Linked DNA regions of Homo sapiens: regions 1, 3, 4 and 5 are each linked to region 2. Evidence: promoter capture Hi-C in 16 types of primary human blood cells and fetal thymus (Javierre and others, 2016). All regions are on one chromosome and are shown on one strand. The core of a region is centred on a gene start or on the middle of the fragment in contact, and the rest is flanking DNA. Distances in the headings are between cores, read along the strand shown.

Evidence for each region. Contacts are between HindIII fragments. The CHiCAGO score rates a contact against its expected background, and 5 or more counts as called.
Region 1: a contact is called between a fragment that was not itself captured here and the fragment with the promoter of KLHDC4 in region 2, in 2 of 17 cell types (naive CD4 T cells and naive CD8 T cells). The highest score is 6.3, in naive CD4 T cells.
Region 3: the fragment with the promoter of C16orf95 here is called in contact with the fragment with the promoter of KLHDC4 in region 2 in 3 of 17 cell types (naive CD8 T cells, naive B cells and total CD8 T cells); the score reaches 7.4 in naive CD8 T cells.
Region 4: a contact is called between the fragment with the promoter of FBXO31 here and the fragment with the promoter of KLHDC4 in region 2, in 11 of 17 cell types (naive CD8 T cells, naive CD4 T cells, total CD8 T cells and 8 more). The highest score is 12.2, in naive CD8 T cells.
Region 5: a fragment that was not itself captured here is called in contact with the fragment with the promoter of KLHDC4 in region 2 in 1 of 17 cell types (endothelial precursors); the score reaches 5.7 in endothelial precursors.

Annotation. Positions count from the first base shown.
Region 1 is chr16:87,423,054-87,425,824 of GRCh38, reverse strand. ZCCHC14 (zinc finger CCHC-type containing 14) reads left to right here. Exons shown (of 13, transcript NM_015144.3): 4 at 1,944-2,015. Among named protein-coding and RNA genes, the nearest start is that of MAP1LC3B, 32 kb to the right of the region's middle. RefSeq lists enhancers at 105-614, 1,633-2,140, 2,141-2,650. The HindIII fragment of the contact is 7,231 bases long and covers 1-2,771 here.
Region 2 is chr16:87,764,687-87,767,400 of GRCh38, reverse strand. It overlaps KLHDC4 (kelch domain containing 4), which reads left to right and starts at 1,415. Exons shown (of 12, transcript NM_017566.4): 1 at 1,415-1,609. The coding sequence starts at 1,511. LOC105371399 (a long non-coding RNA gene) reads right to left here and starts at 1,360. Exons shown (of 3, transcript XR_933871.3): 1 at 1,060-1,360. It overlaps LOC102724467 (a long non-coding RNA gene), which reads left to right. Exons shown (of 4, transcript NR_120309.1): 4 at 977-1,070. RefSeq lists enhancers at 1,320-1,379, 1,460-1,519, 1,503-2,127. The HindIII fragment of the contact is 5,415 bases long and covers 1-2,714 here.
Region 3 is chr16:87,315,952-87,318,748 of GRCh38, reverse strand. It overlaps C16orf95 (chromosome 16 open reading frame 95), which reads left to right and starts at 1,357. Exons shown (of 7, transcript NM_001195124.3): 1 at 1,357-1,658. The coding sequence starts at 1,507. It overlaps C16orf95-DT (C16orf95 divergent transcript), which reads right to left and starts at 1,240. Exons shown (of 2, transcript NR_135180.1): 1 at 1,027-1,240; 2 at 706-892. RefSeq lists an enhancer at 1,330-1,779. The HindIII fragment of the contact is 6,644 bases long and covers 1-2,797 here.
Region 4 is chr16:87,382,467-87,385,166 of GRCh38, reverse strand. FBXO31 (F-box protein 31) reads left to right here and starts at 1,391. Exons shown (of 9, transcript NM_024735.5): 1 at 1,391-1,762. The coding sequence starts at 1,423. It overlaps TRM-CAT6-1 (tRNA-Met (anticodon CAT) 6-1), which reads left to right and starts at 1,073; the gene lies at 1,073-1,145. LOC124903747 (a long non-coding RNA gene) reads right to left here and starts at 1,234. Exons shown (of 2, transcript XR_007065168.1): 1 at 971-1,234. RefSeq lists enhancers at 283-934, 935-1,588 and silencers at 996-1,655, 1,796-2,035. The HindIII fragment of the contact is 7,278 bases long and covers 1-2,700 here.
Region 5 is chr16:87,459,355-87,462,213 of GRCh38, reverse strand. ZCCHC14 (zinc finger CCHC-type containing 14) reads left to right here. Exons shown (of 13, transcript NM_015144.3): 2 at 2,083-2,206. Among named protein-coding and RNA genes, the nearest start is that of ZCCHC14, 32 kb to the left of the region's middle. The HindIII fragment of the contact is 6,784 bases long and covers 1-2,859 here.

The sequences.
Region 1 (2,771 bases), core at 30-2,529, 340 kb after region 2:
CAGAGGAGACGTTTTCTATGACACGCTTTACCTTGAAAGAGACACGCTGTCAGCAGCGCGGGGGACAGCCATCTTCACGGCAGGGGTTTGTGTCTGTTGGTGGTGGTGTTCTTGGAGTTCTGTGTGGGGAGCAGCTTAGGAACCTCTCCCCAAGATTTTTGGTGTTGAGAGATTTTAATATTTAAGGCAGAGAAGGAGCTCAAACATTTTCTTTTCTTTTCTTTTCTTTCTTTCTTTCTTTTTTTTTTTTGATAGAGTTTCGCTCTTGTTGCCCAGGCTGGAGTGCAATGGCGCGATCTCGGCTCACTGCAGCCTCCCCCTCCCGGGTTCAAGCAGTTCTCCCACCTCAGTCTCCCAAGTAGCTAGGATTACAGGCGCCTGCCACCATGCCCGGCCAATTTTGTATTTTTAGTAGAGACGGGGTTTCTCCACGTTGGTCAGGCTGGTCTTGAACTCCTGACCTCAGGTGATCCGCCCACCTCAGCCTCCCAAAGTGCTGGGATTACAGGTGTGAGCCACTGCGCCCGGCCTCAAGCATTTTCATTTTAGGTGTGGAAGATTCTGGGTGGCAAGGTGCACGCCTTGCAGCCGTTAGTTCCAGGGACGCTGCTGCTTGCCTTGATGAATTCTGGTAGGCACTGGGGTTCTGGTGAAGAAGAGGTGGCCCTTTCCTCGACTGGCCTGTGTATTATGAGGGCGTGATGAAACAGACCCAGGAGTGACGCTACGTGATGTGACGAGACTGGCCTCAGTTTCAGCAGGCAGGAGGGTGGACACCTCGGGGACTAGACTGCAGGCCCATGGATGTGGGTGTGGGTGTGGGTGAGGGAGCAGAGGTGGTTTGGGTGCCTGTGAGCTCTCTTTGCTCTAAATCAGTGTTAATACAGCGTTTTCTTTTGCATAATGTATTTGGTCATTTTATTTGCCGACTTGAAATCCCCCAGCTTCTTGTGGACTTGAGTGCAATTTGCATTTGGTGCTTGTCCCTTCCTGACCTGGCCTCCTCCCTGTCATTTCAGGCCATCCCCTCTGTCCATCTCAATCCTGTAGCTAACTTCTTATTTGCCTTTCAGAAGTCAACCCAAGCTCTTCTCCATGCAGAAACTCCCTCTAATGTGCAAAAAGTACGCTCTCCTTCCCCCTCAGTCAGCTTTGTTTAGCACCTCATGTGACGAGCATTGTGATAGCCAGGGGAGAGCTGAGCAAAAAGACACCGCCCCTTCCCCCCTGGAGCTTAGCGTGCATGTGGGGAGATGGACCTCCGTGGAGCCATGCAGTGACACCGCCCGCTGCTGCATGCTGGGAAGGAAAGCTGATGCTCACAAGGGCTGGGCACACCAGACGTTGCAGAATCTCCTCCAGAAAGCCCTTTTCACTGCTCTTCCCCAGCAGTGATCACTGCTGCCCTAGTGATCACTGCCCTGTCCTGTTGCTATCAATGGACTCACACTGTCCCCACAGCTCTGCAGTGTCCTGAGAGCAGGGCCTGGGCTCACTGTGTGCCCACAGCACCTGGGCGGGCGCACCACGGGCCCTTACCGGTGGTCGAAGGGCTGCTCTCTGGGAATGTGTCGCTCTTGCATCTGAGGCACATAGGCTCACTTAAGAAGAGGAGGTCCCCTGAGGAAGTTGAACAGGGCACACACAAGCAATTGTCAGGGATTTTCTAGAACTTACAGGAGGCAGCTGTAGACCCCACTCTGGAGTAATTTGGTGATATCTGAATAATTGCATAAAACAAGTTAGACTTTAGAGGGCCTGGAGCTATGTGACTCTTCTTTCTGTAACAAGTCAAGGGATGCTTAGGTGCTTCCCACAGCAGGTGCACGGCCCACTGGGCTCAGCTGCCGACTGAACGTGTGCCCCAGTCGTACCAGGACACGTGCTGGGAACCAAGTATGTGGTGTCTGTTTCTAAGGTTTGTTTGTTTGTTTGTTTTTAAGGTCTTGTGGTCTGATTCTTCAATAACATCAGTAACCAAATCTTCCTCTGAAGTGACGGAATTTATTTCAAAGGTAAGGTAATCAAGGGCTCTTATAAAAATTAAAAGAATCACATTCCCCAGTGGCTGATGATACCACGGAGTAATTTCAGAGGCCACTCCCTTCAGCTAGCGAGTGAGCGTGCGCAGGGCGGGGCCTCCTGCCCAGCCACAGTGGAGTCCCAGGCCCGCTGCTGACATGAGCGTTGCTGCGAGCACAGGTCCGTGACCCCGCGGATGCCTCCTTCACTTGTTGAGACTGAGATGAGGCTGAGAGATGCGCCGGGCATGAGCGACTGATGAGGACATTTGGTTTCTTTTGTTACTTTTCAGTCCCCCAGGTTTCCTTGGCAAAGGCTGGGGGAGAGAGGCATGCTCAGGTGGCTGAGTGGGTAGAGACTTCACCTAGTTCTACCTTTATCTGTTTTTATTTATTTATTTATTTTATTATTATTTTTTTAAGAGACTGGATCTTGCTCTCGCCCAGGCTGGGTTGTGGTGGTACCATCATCACAGCTCACTGCAGCCTTGACCTCCTGGTGCTCAAGTGGTCCTCCCACGTTTATCTTTACAAATATCTGGTTCAGCAGATACCATTGAACAGAAAGTTCCACTACTAAATAAATGCCTCTTTGCCTCCGTGTGCATGTGTACACACAGTTGTAACTGCACACGTGTTTAGGGCCCACTGGCCTGTGCTGTAGCGTGAACGACTGTCTCAGCCAAAGTGATGCCTCTCAGGCAGTCAGCTTTGTGAATGGGATAACATATGTAAATGTCTCCAAAGAGA
Region 2 (2,714 bases), core at 166-2,665:
TAATTTGAGGCAAATCCTAGAGTACAATTTCCTAGCAGGCATTTGGATATTACCTATCTTTATTTCTCAGGCTCCACAAATTGAGTACCCTTTCAGGGTGCTATCATTAGCTCTAGCCTACCTATGAAGAAACAAAAGTCCTCCATGTTAGGACATTTGAGGACATGCCCTTAGTACCTAACAGTGTCTGGCACATTTTAAATGGGAAGGTGGAAGGGCCCCCCCATTTTTTTTTTTTTTTAAGATGGAATTTTGCTCTTTTGCCCAAGCTGGAGTGAAGTGGCTTGATCTCAGCTCATTGCAACCTCTGCCCCCTGGGTTCAAGCAATTCTCCTGCCTCAGCCTCCCAAGTAGCTGGGATTACAGGTGCCCACCACCACGCCTGGCTAATTTTTGTAGTTTTAGTAGAGACGGGGGTTTCACCATGTTGGCTAGGCTGGTCTCGAACTCCTGACCTCGTGATCCACTCACCTCGGCCTCCCAAAGTGCTGGGATTACAGGCGTGAGCCACCGCGCCCGGCAGGGACTGTCTTACTCAGGATCTGCAAAATCTTATAACTGTGTGAAATTTTTTTTCTGGGAAAAAAGCACTCATTTGTTTGGTCTGAGGGGAAAAAATGGGGCTAGCCCAAGAGTCGCCCACTTAGTTCTACCCAGGGCGAAGCAATGTGCCTTAACGGGGGGCACGTGCACCCCGGAAAACTCAAGAGAAAATGAGCCGGGCGTGGTGGGCTCCTGTGGTCCCAGCTACTCCAGAGGCGGAGGTTACAGCGAGCCGAGATCGCGCTACCGCACTCCAGCCTGGGCGACAGAGCAAGACCCTGCCTCAAAAAAATAGAAATAAAAAATAAAACTCAGAGGGCACGTCTCCTAGGACACGGGGACAGGCTAGGTGGGGGCACAGGGCGTGAGAATTGGCGAGCATGGCCGGGGTATGTCAGGCCGGGGCTGCCATCTTTTTTGTTTTTTGAAACAGGATCTCGCTCTGTCGCCCAGGTTGGGGTGCAGGGGCGCATTGCTGCCTGGAACTCCTTGACTCAAGCGATCTTCCCGCCTCACCTTCCCGAGGAGCTAGGACCACTGGGCGCGAGACACCACGCCCGGTTAATTTTTTTTTTTTTCTTCTGTAGCGACTGGGGGTGGGGGGTGGTGTCTCGCTTTGTTGCCCAGGCTGATCTCGAACTCCTGGACTCAAGCGATCCGCCCGCCAAGGCCTCCCAAAGCTCCAGGGTTACAGGCATGAGCCACCGCGCCCAGCCCGGGGCCGGTCATCTTTTCCGGGGCCTTATGCAGAGTCCGAGGCCCCCGAGCCCGCTGCCGAAGACGGAGCTCCAAGACCGAACCTCGTAAAGGGCCCAGCCGCACCTCTACCCGGAAGCGGCTCGAACTCGGGGCCGGAAGTGACTCCATTTCTGTGCGCCGAGCTCCGCCCCACGAGCACCTGTTTCCGAGCGGAGAGCGCGGGCCGTTTTCTTTCCTGGTGTCCCGTCGCGGCTTGGGACCCGGCAAGATGGGCAAGAAGGGCAAGAAGGAGAAGAAGGGCCGCGGCGCGGAGAAGACGGCCGCCAAGATGGAGAAGAAGGTGTCTAAGCGCTCGCGGAAGGAGGAGGTGAGCGGGTCAGACCGGGCTTAGCGGCCCGACGTCGCGGCCGTGCAGCCTCGGCCGACTCCCTGCGCCCCCCGGGGTTACGGGTCGGCCGTGGGAGCCGCGCCGGCCCTGCGGGAGAGCTGGAGGCCGTAGGAACTGCCCCGGCGCCGCGTCCGGGCAGCCCAGACGGGGCCCGCCCCCTCCTGAGTCTCCACGTGTGTCTGTCCGCTTCTCGGAGCTGCCCCCTTTAACGTGCTTGCTTTTCTTAGTGTGGTGTCACGGGCGTTTTTCTGCGTTTCCTCCCCCTCCTCCCTTCTCCCTCCACCCTCCCTCTGAAGGGAGGCTGGGTGGTGAGAAGAGGGAGGGGTTTGGCACAGGAAGACCTGAGGTTGAGCCGGGGGCTGCCTCTGCATGATGTGTGGTCTGGGAGTAAGACTCTTAACTTTTCTGAACCTTACTTTTCTTTCAAAAGAGGGCAAATAATCATCACAGCAGCCCTGAGCAGTGAGCAGCAGATGGTTAAGTGAAGAAGGCACTGGAGCCACGGGGTATCCCGTAGCAGCTGATGGCGGCCATCACGGTTGTCTCCTTCCCTCTGGTCCTCAGCCCGGGGTCTGCAGGAGGATCCGTCCTGACCTTGGGGTTGAGTGTTCTGCGGCTGCTGCTCATGGATTCCCTAACCGGGGCCAGTTTTATGGCCTGCCGTGCGCCAGGCACAGCTCCCTGGGCTTTACTCCTCACGAGCAGGTCAGTTCCGTAGCACTGGTATTCCCATTTGACAGGAAGACCAACAGGTGAACCATGAAGTGGTATGGAACTGGGATGTGACCAGATGTCCTGAATCAGGAGCTCTTGACCACAGTCCTTTGTCCCTTTTCTTCCTAAGTCATTGATCTCTCCATGTCCTCATCTCTTAAATAATGGAGTTGGACTTTTCCCTCACACTCCTCTTAGGCTCTTTCTTTTTTTTTTTTTTTTTTTTGACAGAGTCTTGCTCTGTCACCTAGGCTGGGCTGCAGTGGCATGACCTGCTGGCTAGGGTTGTGGCACAGGAAGTCAGTTCATCTGTGTGGTATCTTCAGAATGGTGCTTGGCAGAAAGTAAGCACTCAGTAACCAGCTGTTAG
Region 3 (2,797 bases), core at 108-2,607, 450 kb after region 2:
TCCTCGACAAACTAGGTATTGTCAGTCCTTTTAATTTTAGCCATTCTTGGGTGGGTGAGGGCAGTGAAGAGCTATTCTTGACATGGAATGACAAGACCTAGTGTGCCCGAGGTGAAGGCCTGAGCGTCCAGGGGAGCATGAGCCTGTCTTCTATGCCCTGCTGTGCTATGGCAGTGTTTCAGTGTGCTCTGGAGGAAAACAGCAGAGAAGCCGAGTGCTCCAAAGTGGGCAGAAATGAGACAGGCATAATGTGCTAGGCTAATGGTGACTCTTGGAATTTTGTCATTAGCTACAAAGAGGGCAGTGACATGATTTACACACACACACGGGGTGGGGTATCTGAAATATTAGGCAGCTAGTATGGCAGGGGCACCGTCTAATCAGCATGGATGCTGGCCAGGAGAGGACATGTGTATGTGCTGGCTGGAAACAGTCCTGCTCATAGGTCACGATCTTAATGATTAAATAACAAGGCAAGAAATCCGAGAGGGCAGTGCCTGGGAGCACCCTGTTTGCTCTGTGGCCAGAACGCAGCACACTGAAGTATTGCCCATCAGGGTAAGAGGTGCTCGTGATGGTTTGGGCAAATACAAATATTAATCCAGAGTATTTGAGTCTACATGAAAATACTGAAAAGTGAGGGAAGACCCAACCGTTTCCAAGAAATACAAATTGGAACTGGCGATAACTTAAAGAACATAATCAGAGAGGCAGAGGGCATTGGGTTTTACTAAAATATGAAGACATACGTCCTGTCTCCACGTCAGCAACTGCCCAAAGTACACGCGTTCCAGCGAAAAGAGCGGGTGGGGTGGGGAGGCTCAGGGCCAGCCAGAGCTTCGGTGCTTGCACGCCCAGGCCTCCGGGTGACGACTGCTTCCAATTCCGCGCCCTTTAAACCCCATGTTGTTAAAAAAAAAAAAAAAGAAAGAAAACCTATTTCTCTAAAAGTCACGATTCGAGCCCCACCTGAGGACGCAGCGATCCAGCGCCAACTCATTATCTGAGATAAAGGAGTGATTTTACCAGAAGCGCCTATGCAAGACGCAGGGCCCCGCGCGGGCTGCTCCCACCTCTTTCTCTCCTTGCAGGCTACCGAGACCCTGGCTGGGGCGGCCGGCGGCCCCTCCGGCCCATCCGTCGGAAATGATGAGTGGCTCCAGTGGCCGGGGTCCGCAGGACCTACCCCAGCGGGCATGGCGGGAGCCCCGCAGCCCCACACAGCCGCGCTCTGAGCCGCTGACCCCGCGTCTCTCGTGAGGGACCAATCAGCTGCCAGCTAAGGTCACATACCTAGAAGGCCAATTTTGATTGGCTGGGCGCGGGCTAGTCAGCGGGACGGGCGGGCGCGCGGGCGTTGTTGGGCTCCTCTGAGCGGTTGAGGTTGGGGCTGGGGTTGAGCTCGGGTTGGGTTCCTCCTGGGGCAGGAGGGAAAGGCGGGAGCCAGGGCGTCAGGGCCTGCGGACGATGTGTGTGTGAAAGGGCGCGTCAGCCATAAGAAGCCATATGCGTGCGAGCCGGTCCCCACCGTCCCCGCGGCGTTGTCACCATCATCATGAGGCCACTGGAGCAGCCTCAGGCGCTGCTGCCGGGGGGCCGGGCGCGGGGTGCGTCGGGCTCTGCAGGTTGGCACTCACACCCAGCGCGCAGGATGGCAGGCAAGTGAGTCCTGAATCCTGCCCGCGGCTACCCGACACCTCGCCTGTGAGTTCCCGGCCCGGCATTGCTCCATGACCTATGCACAGGCAGAACTCTTGACCGCCACCCACAGGAACCTCACTTACATTGGCTTAACAAAAACGCAACTGATGGTTCCACATAACTGAAAATGTCAGAAGTAGGCCTTCAGGCATGGATGTATCCAGGTACACATTGACCATGGTCCTGGAAGGTTTCTCTCCATCTCTCAGCTTCCTTCCTTTTTGCTGGCTTCCCTTGTGGAGGCAAGATGATCACCAGGACCTCCTGAGGTTTACATGTTATCAGATTATCAACCTCAACAAAAAGGAGATTCTTTTTTTTCCCAGCTTTCCAGGCTGGGCAGTGGTGAGTTTGGCCCACCTGAACTACAAGGACTGAGATGGCTGTGGCCCCCCCCCTCCCCACCAGGAATATAGCAGTGCTGTCATTACCAGAAGGGGCCTCGGATGCTGTGGAGGGCAGTGCCCCATCCTCTGTTTTCAAGCATTATCTGGGAGAGTTGATGCGTGAACCTATTACTCTCACAAAAATAGCAATAATAATAATGGTTATTATGACAATGAAACCCAAAAACACTTATATCGCTCTTACGGTTTCCACATACAAAGCACTTTGACCCACTACTGTCAGGGAAGCAGGGCTTTGCACCCACTGGAGACGCTTCATCCAGCCAACATTCAAGCAGTTTGTTGGGGAGTGGAACAGGGAAGAGCCACACAGGCTGTGTAACCCCAAGTGCTTTGTCATCCCAGAGACAAAGCACCCGGGTTTTTATAGTGGAAGGAGGTTCATTAATGGACAGTTTGACGATGTTTTTTCTTCAGTATTTCAGTAAGTTGAGGGTGTCTGACAGATCATCCTAGGTGATGTGATTGGCAGCTACATGTCTTGGAAAGTTCTCAGCAGGTTGGAATGCTCCTGTCTTTTCTGATGCTCCAAGCACAAGTGTAGCTGGAGTCAGCTTGAAGCTGGTTGGCTTGGGAATGCAGGATTCCATGACAGCCAGCCCCCAGGAGCCCCTAGACATTCACGCATGAGCTAGCACACGCCTGCTTCTGATGTCACCCTCTCACTCTTCTTGGGCTCAGAGGATCCC
Region 4 (2,700 bases), core at 142-2,641, 380 kb after region 2:
AATTATTTGTAGAGATGGGGGCGTCTCACTATGTGGGTAGGCTGGTCTCCGACTCCTGGGCTTAACCGATCTACCCGCCTCGGCCTCCCAAAGTGCTAGAATTACAGGCGTGAGCCACTGCGCCTGGCCTGTGTGGTTTGTTTGTTTGTTTGTTTGAAGAGACAGGGTTTCACCATGTTGGTCAGGCGGGTCTCAAACTCCTGACCTCAGGTGATGCACCCTTCTCCGCCTCCCAAAGTGCTGGGATTACAGACGTGAGCCACCGCGCCCAGCCATTTGTGGCTATTTTTGTTTTTTGTTTGTTTTGGAGACAGGGTCACGCTGTGTTGCCCAGGCTGAAGTGCAGTGGCACCATCACGGGTCACTACAGCCTCGGCCTCCTGGGATCAAGCGATCCTCCCGTCTCAGCTTCTCTTTCTAAAATTTTGTTTTGTAGACAGGGTCTCGCTGTATTGCCCAGGCCGGTCTCGAGCTCCTGGCCTCGATTGATACTCCCGCCTGGGCCTCCAAGAGATGGGGTCCGAGGCGAGCCCACGGCGACGTGCGCGGCTGCTCAGGTGAGAGGACGCCTTCGCGGTCACCACCCGCGGACCTGGGAGACGACCCCGCTCAGCGGCCTCGGCGGAGCCCAGCTGGAGCAGGCGTGCGCGGCTCCCAGCAGCTGCAGGAACAGGCGCCCTTTGGGCGGCGCCGCATGGCAGGGCCTCCCTTTCCAGACCGGGCGCGCATCCCCGGATCTCTTGGGCCGCGCCGGCCGCCGCCCCTCCAAGCCCTCCCCGGGGCTTCCGCAGGGAGCTCGGGATCCCCGAAGGTCCCTGCAGAGCTCCGCAGCTCGGGCCTTTTGGTTACCATAAGGCGGAGACGATGGAACGCGCGTTGTTTCAATGGACAAAAGGGCTTCTAGGCGCCCTTTGGGGTTCTGGCTGCTGCCTCTGTATTTGGAGGCTGTAAGGCGCATCTTTCTACTCACCGGCCGGCGCGGCACAGTTTCGGGCGCCGGAAGCGGGACGCACGGGCGCGAGGGGCGACCCCTATCTCCACAAAAGCCGCGGCGCGAAGTGGTCGCCGAGCAGCCTCGTTAGCGCAGTAGGCAGCGCGTCAGTCTCATAATCTGAAGGTCGTGAGTTCGAGCCTCACACGGGGCAGTCTAACGTTTTGCACTCGGCATCACCACTTTCTTTTCTCATGCCCGTCACGGGCGGCGCCCTCACGCTGGAGGGGAGGGCAGCAGTGCGGGGTCTCTGAGGTCGCCGCCCCGCGGGGAGGGGGTGGCGCGGCCGGGGCGGAGCTCTACGTAGGGGCGGGGCTAGGCTCTCCAGGGGGCGTGGCGAGCTCTGCGGCGGGGGCGTGGCTCGGCGCTGGCGGGGCGGGGCCGCGCTGGAGCGTGCGCACAGGCGGCAGCAGTGGCCGTCACTGGGCGGCATGGCGGTGTGTGCTCGCCTTTGCGGCGTGGGCCCGTCGCGCGGATGTCGGCGCCGCCAGCAGCGCCGGGGCCCGGCCGAGACGGCGGCGGCCGACAGCGAGCCGGACACAGACCCCGAGGAGGAGCGCATCGAGGCTAGCGCCGGGGTCGGGGGCGGCTTGTGCGCGGGCCCCTCGCCGCCGCCCCCGCGCTGCTCGCTGCTGGAGCTGCCGCCCGAGCTGCTGGTGGAGATCTTCGCGTCGCTGCCGGGCACGGACCTACCCAGCTTGGCCCAGGTCTGCACGAAGTTCCGGCGCATCCTCCACACCGACACCATCTGGAGGAGGCGTTGCCGTGAGGGTGAGCGCGCGGGGGTGGCGGGGCCGGGAGGGGCGGGGGGTCCCTGCCAGGTGGAGGCCTCGGAGCTGGGAGTGGCGGGGGCGGTGGCCCCGGCCGGGGGCCACCAGTTGGGCGCGGGGCCCGGCGATGTGGTGTTTTGGGTGTGGGTGGGGAGCGGCCGCGGTGACACCACGTTGAGGGGGCCAGGGAGGTATTTGAGGCGGTTAGGGAGGGTCCGAGGGGTCCAAGAGAGGCAGACGGGGTAGGGAGGGGTTGAGGGCGTCAGGGAGGCATCGAAGAGGCCCTGACGCGGGGCACGGGACACCACGGGGCCGAGGCCGTGCCGGGAGCTGGGGCTGGGATCCCTCGAGGTCTGCGCGGGGCCTAAGCTGACGCCTGGGGGCCGCCTCCTCTGCCCCTGTCTTGAAGGCGAGCCGAGGGTGCCCCGCTGGCCCTGACCAGAGACGAGGTGAACTTGAAGAAATGGGAGCAGGCCGGGCGCGGTTTCACGCCTGTAATCTCAGCACTTAGGGAGGCCGAGGCGGGCGGGTCACCTGAGGTCAGGAGTTCGAGACCAGCCTGGTGAAGATGGTAAAACCCCGTCTCTACTTACAAAAATACAAAAATTAGCCGGGCGTGGTAGCGGGCGCCTGTAATCCCAGCTACTCGGGAGGGTGAGGCAGAAGAATGGCTTGAACCCGGGAGGCGGAGGTTGCACTGAGCCAACATCTGGGCCATTGCACTCCACCCTAGGCGACAGAGTGCGACTTGGTCTCAAACAACAGCAACAAAAAAAATTACGGGAGTAGGGGAAGCCCAGTGTCGGGGGCTCCTGATGGTGGGGGCGTAGAGAGACGGATGGATCACAGCGGTGCGGGCTGGACTTTTGCCTTCAGCAATATTGGATGTAACAGATCACAGGAGGAGATGTTTATTTAATCTGGAGTTCAAGGCTCTCT
Region 5 (2,859 bases), core at 1-2,500, 310 kb after region 2:
ATTTTATTTTCTTGATAACATGTTATTAAGTTATCCAAAGAATTGACTTTCTGGAGGAGTTGCTGCATGGCTAGGACTTTTTTTTTTTTTTTTACTTTTTTAGAAATTTAAATAGAGACAGGGTCTCGCTGTTACCCAGGCCAGTAACAAACTCATAGTTTCAAGCAGTCCTCCTGCCTCAGCCTCCCAAAGTGCTGGGATTATAGCCATGAGCTGCTGCGCCCGGCCTTATTTTCTCGAGTTACATAAACTTCCCAATTATGTAGCCCTGTGACAAGTTGCTTTTCTTGGAAGGCATCTGTTGAGCCGCGTGGGATCTGTTAGTCCCTCTCCCTGCATGAACAGCCCAGGAGGGCTTCTTGCTGGGGGGCAGGGGCATTGACAGAGCTGGGATCAGAGGATCTCGCTATGGACTTGGGTGTGGCCCCTGTGGCTTGCTGTCTGTGGAATACAGCAGGTGCTGGTCCTGCCGGAGTGGCAGCAGTCTCCACCCTTTCCTCCCAACTCCAGCTTCCGCCTCCACTTTCATCCTGTCTGAGGTCGAGGCCACGCCTACCTGGCCAGCCCTCTGCAGAGCGAGTGCTGGGATCTGTGCTTGTGAGTGAACTTAGGGGATGTTTTGGTCAACTGCCACCTACCGTCCAGGTATGAGATGAAAGAACAAGTGGAGGCTGGAGAGGTCAGGCCATTTTCCAGGCTGCTTGTGCCATGTACTTTCCCATACTGTGAATGCAGCATTGCTTATCAGCTCTTTTGATGAACTTTAAAATCTTACGCCTCTCATATCCTCCGAAATTTTGAAATACATTGAGACTGTAAAGAAGTTACAGCATTGGCCATTTTTATTCTTCTAAATCCTATAAGTTATAAATGTGTTTTGGCTGTGAAATTTTAAAATACTGATGGGGAGGGAATGAAGGTTATTGCTACCCCCCTCCTCTCGCCCCTCTGGGCCCCTTCCGGCTTATTCCACATTCACACCATCACTGAACCCAGGAAGCAGGAGGGGTGGGACGAGCCTGGCTAGCCCGTGGCTTGTTTCTGCGCTTGTTGTGTGTTGGGAGCACTGGTGGTCAGGAGGGCCTCCCCCACCCACAGCTTGGGGGCGGCCGTCACCTGCAGGTACACTGTCTGTGCTTAGCAGGTCTCTGTCGATGGGGACTGAGGGTGTGCCCCGCTTTCCCTGTCACAGACACTCCTGCAGTGGGCACACCCCATCAGGTCATTTTCTCACGTGTGAGTACTTGGTATGGTGAATTCCTAGAAATGGAATTGGGATGTAATTTTAGGATATGCTTTTTCAAACTGTACCCCAAATAGACCGAGTTGTATTCTGTTCTTTGCTGTTGTTTTTAAAGCATTTTATGATTTAAGATTTATAGAAGGAGAATGTTAAGTCCTGCTGTGTAATTCGTTTTATAGGGAGCTATTTGATTTGAAGAAATATGAAAATAAAAGTTTGCCTCAAATAAAAATATATAATTCATGCCACCTTGGCTAACATAGTTCCTTTTTTTTTTCTTGGAGATAGAGCCTTACTCTGTTGCCCAGGCTGGAGTGTAGTGTCACCATCTTGGCTCACTGCAGCCCCTGCCTCCTGGGTTCAAGTGATCCTCCCACGTCAGCCTCCCGAGTAGCTGGGACTATAGGCACTTGCCATCACGCCTGGCTAATTTTTGTATTTTTAATAGAGATGGGGTTTCACCATGTTGGCCAGGCTGGTCTTGAACTCCTGGGCTCAAGAGATCCACCTGCGTCAGCCTCCTAAAGTGCTGGGATAACAGGCGTGAGCCACCGTGCCCGGCCTCTTTGGCTACCATAGTTTCTGTGCACCCGATGAACCCCAGCCACAAGACGTAAGCGCCCGTGTTTGACTCAAGTTATCTGAGCTCTTTTGCACTTTCAGTGGAGAGTAGTAGGTGAAATTTTCATCTTTCTTGGGGAAGGCTTATTATTATAATAATACATGTTTTGTAGAAAAATGGAAACCAAGGTAATTATGAAAGACTTAATTAACAAATAAAATTGTCCCCTATTAACTCCGTGGGAGAAAATAAGATGATTCTGTTTCTGTTCCCTCAGATCACTCCAAGAACTGAGGCCCCTGTCAGCAGTGTCAGTAATAGTTTGGAGAATGCCCTGCACACATCAGCACATTCCACGGAGGAGTCGCTGCCCAAGAGGCCCTTAGGAAAACACAGCAAAGGTGAGTGCACGCACGGGTTTCAGGAGGACGTCTGACGGACGGAGGATGGGCACACCCCAGATCCCCGTGAGGGCATTGTTAAATGCTTTCAGATCTTTCATAAATGCCAATCTTATGTGTATTTTTCTAAATTCTATAAGCAATACATGAATATGCTTTGGCTGTAAAAATCTCAATTATTGATGTTTTTTAAGGAGAAGTCCAGACGTGGTTTCTCACACCTGTAATCCCAGCACTTTGGGAGACTGAGGTGGGCGGATCACCTGAGGTTGGGAGTTTGAGACCAGCCTGACCAACATGAAGAAACCCCATCTCTACTAAAAATACAAAATTAGCTGGGCGTGGTGGCGGGCATCTGTAATCCCAGCTACTCGGGAGGCTGAGGCAGGAGAATCGCTTGAACCCAGGAGGCGGAGGTCGTGGTAAGCCAAGATCACGCCATTGCACTCCAGCCTGGGCAACAAGAGCAAAACTCCGTCTGAAAAAAAAAAAAAAATTAGCCAGGCCTGGTGGTGCACGCTTGTAATCCCAGCTACTTGAGAGGCTGAGGCAGGAGAATTGCTTGAACCCAGGAGGTGGAGGTTGCAGTGAGCCGAGATCGTGCCACTGCCCTCCAGTCTGGGTGACAGAGTGAGATTACATCTCAAAAAAAA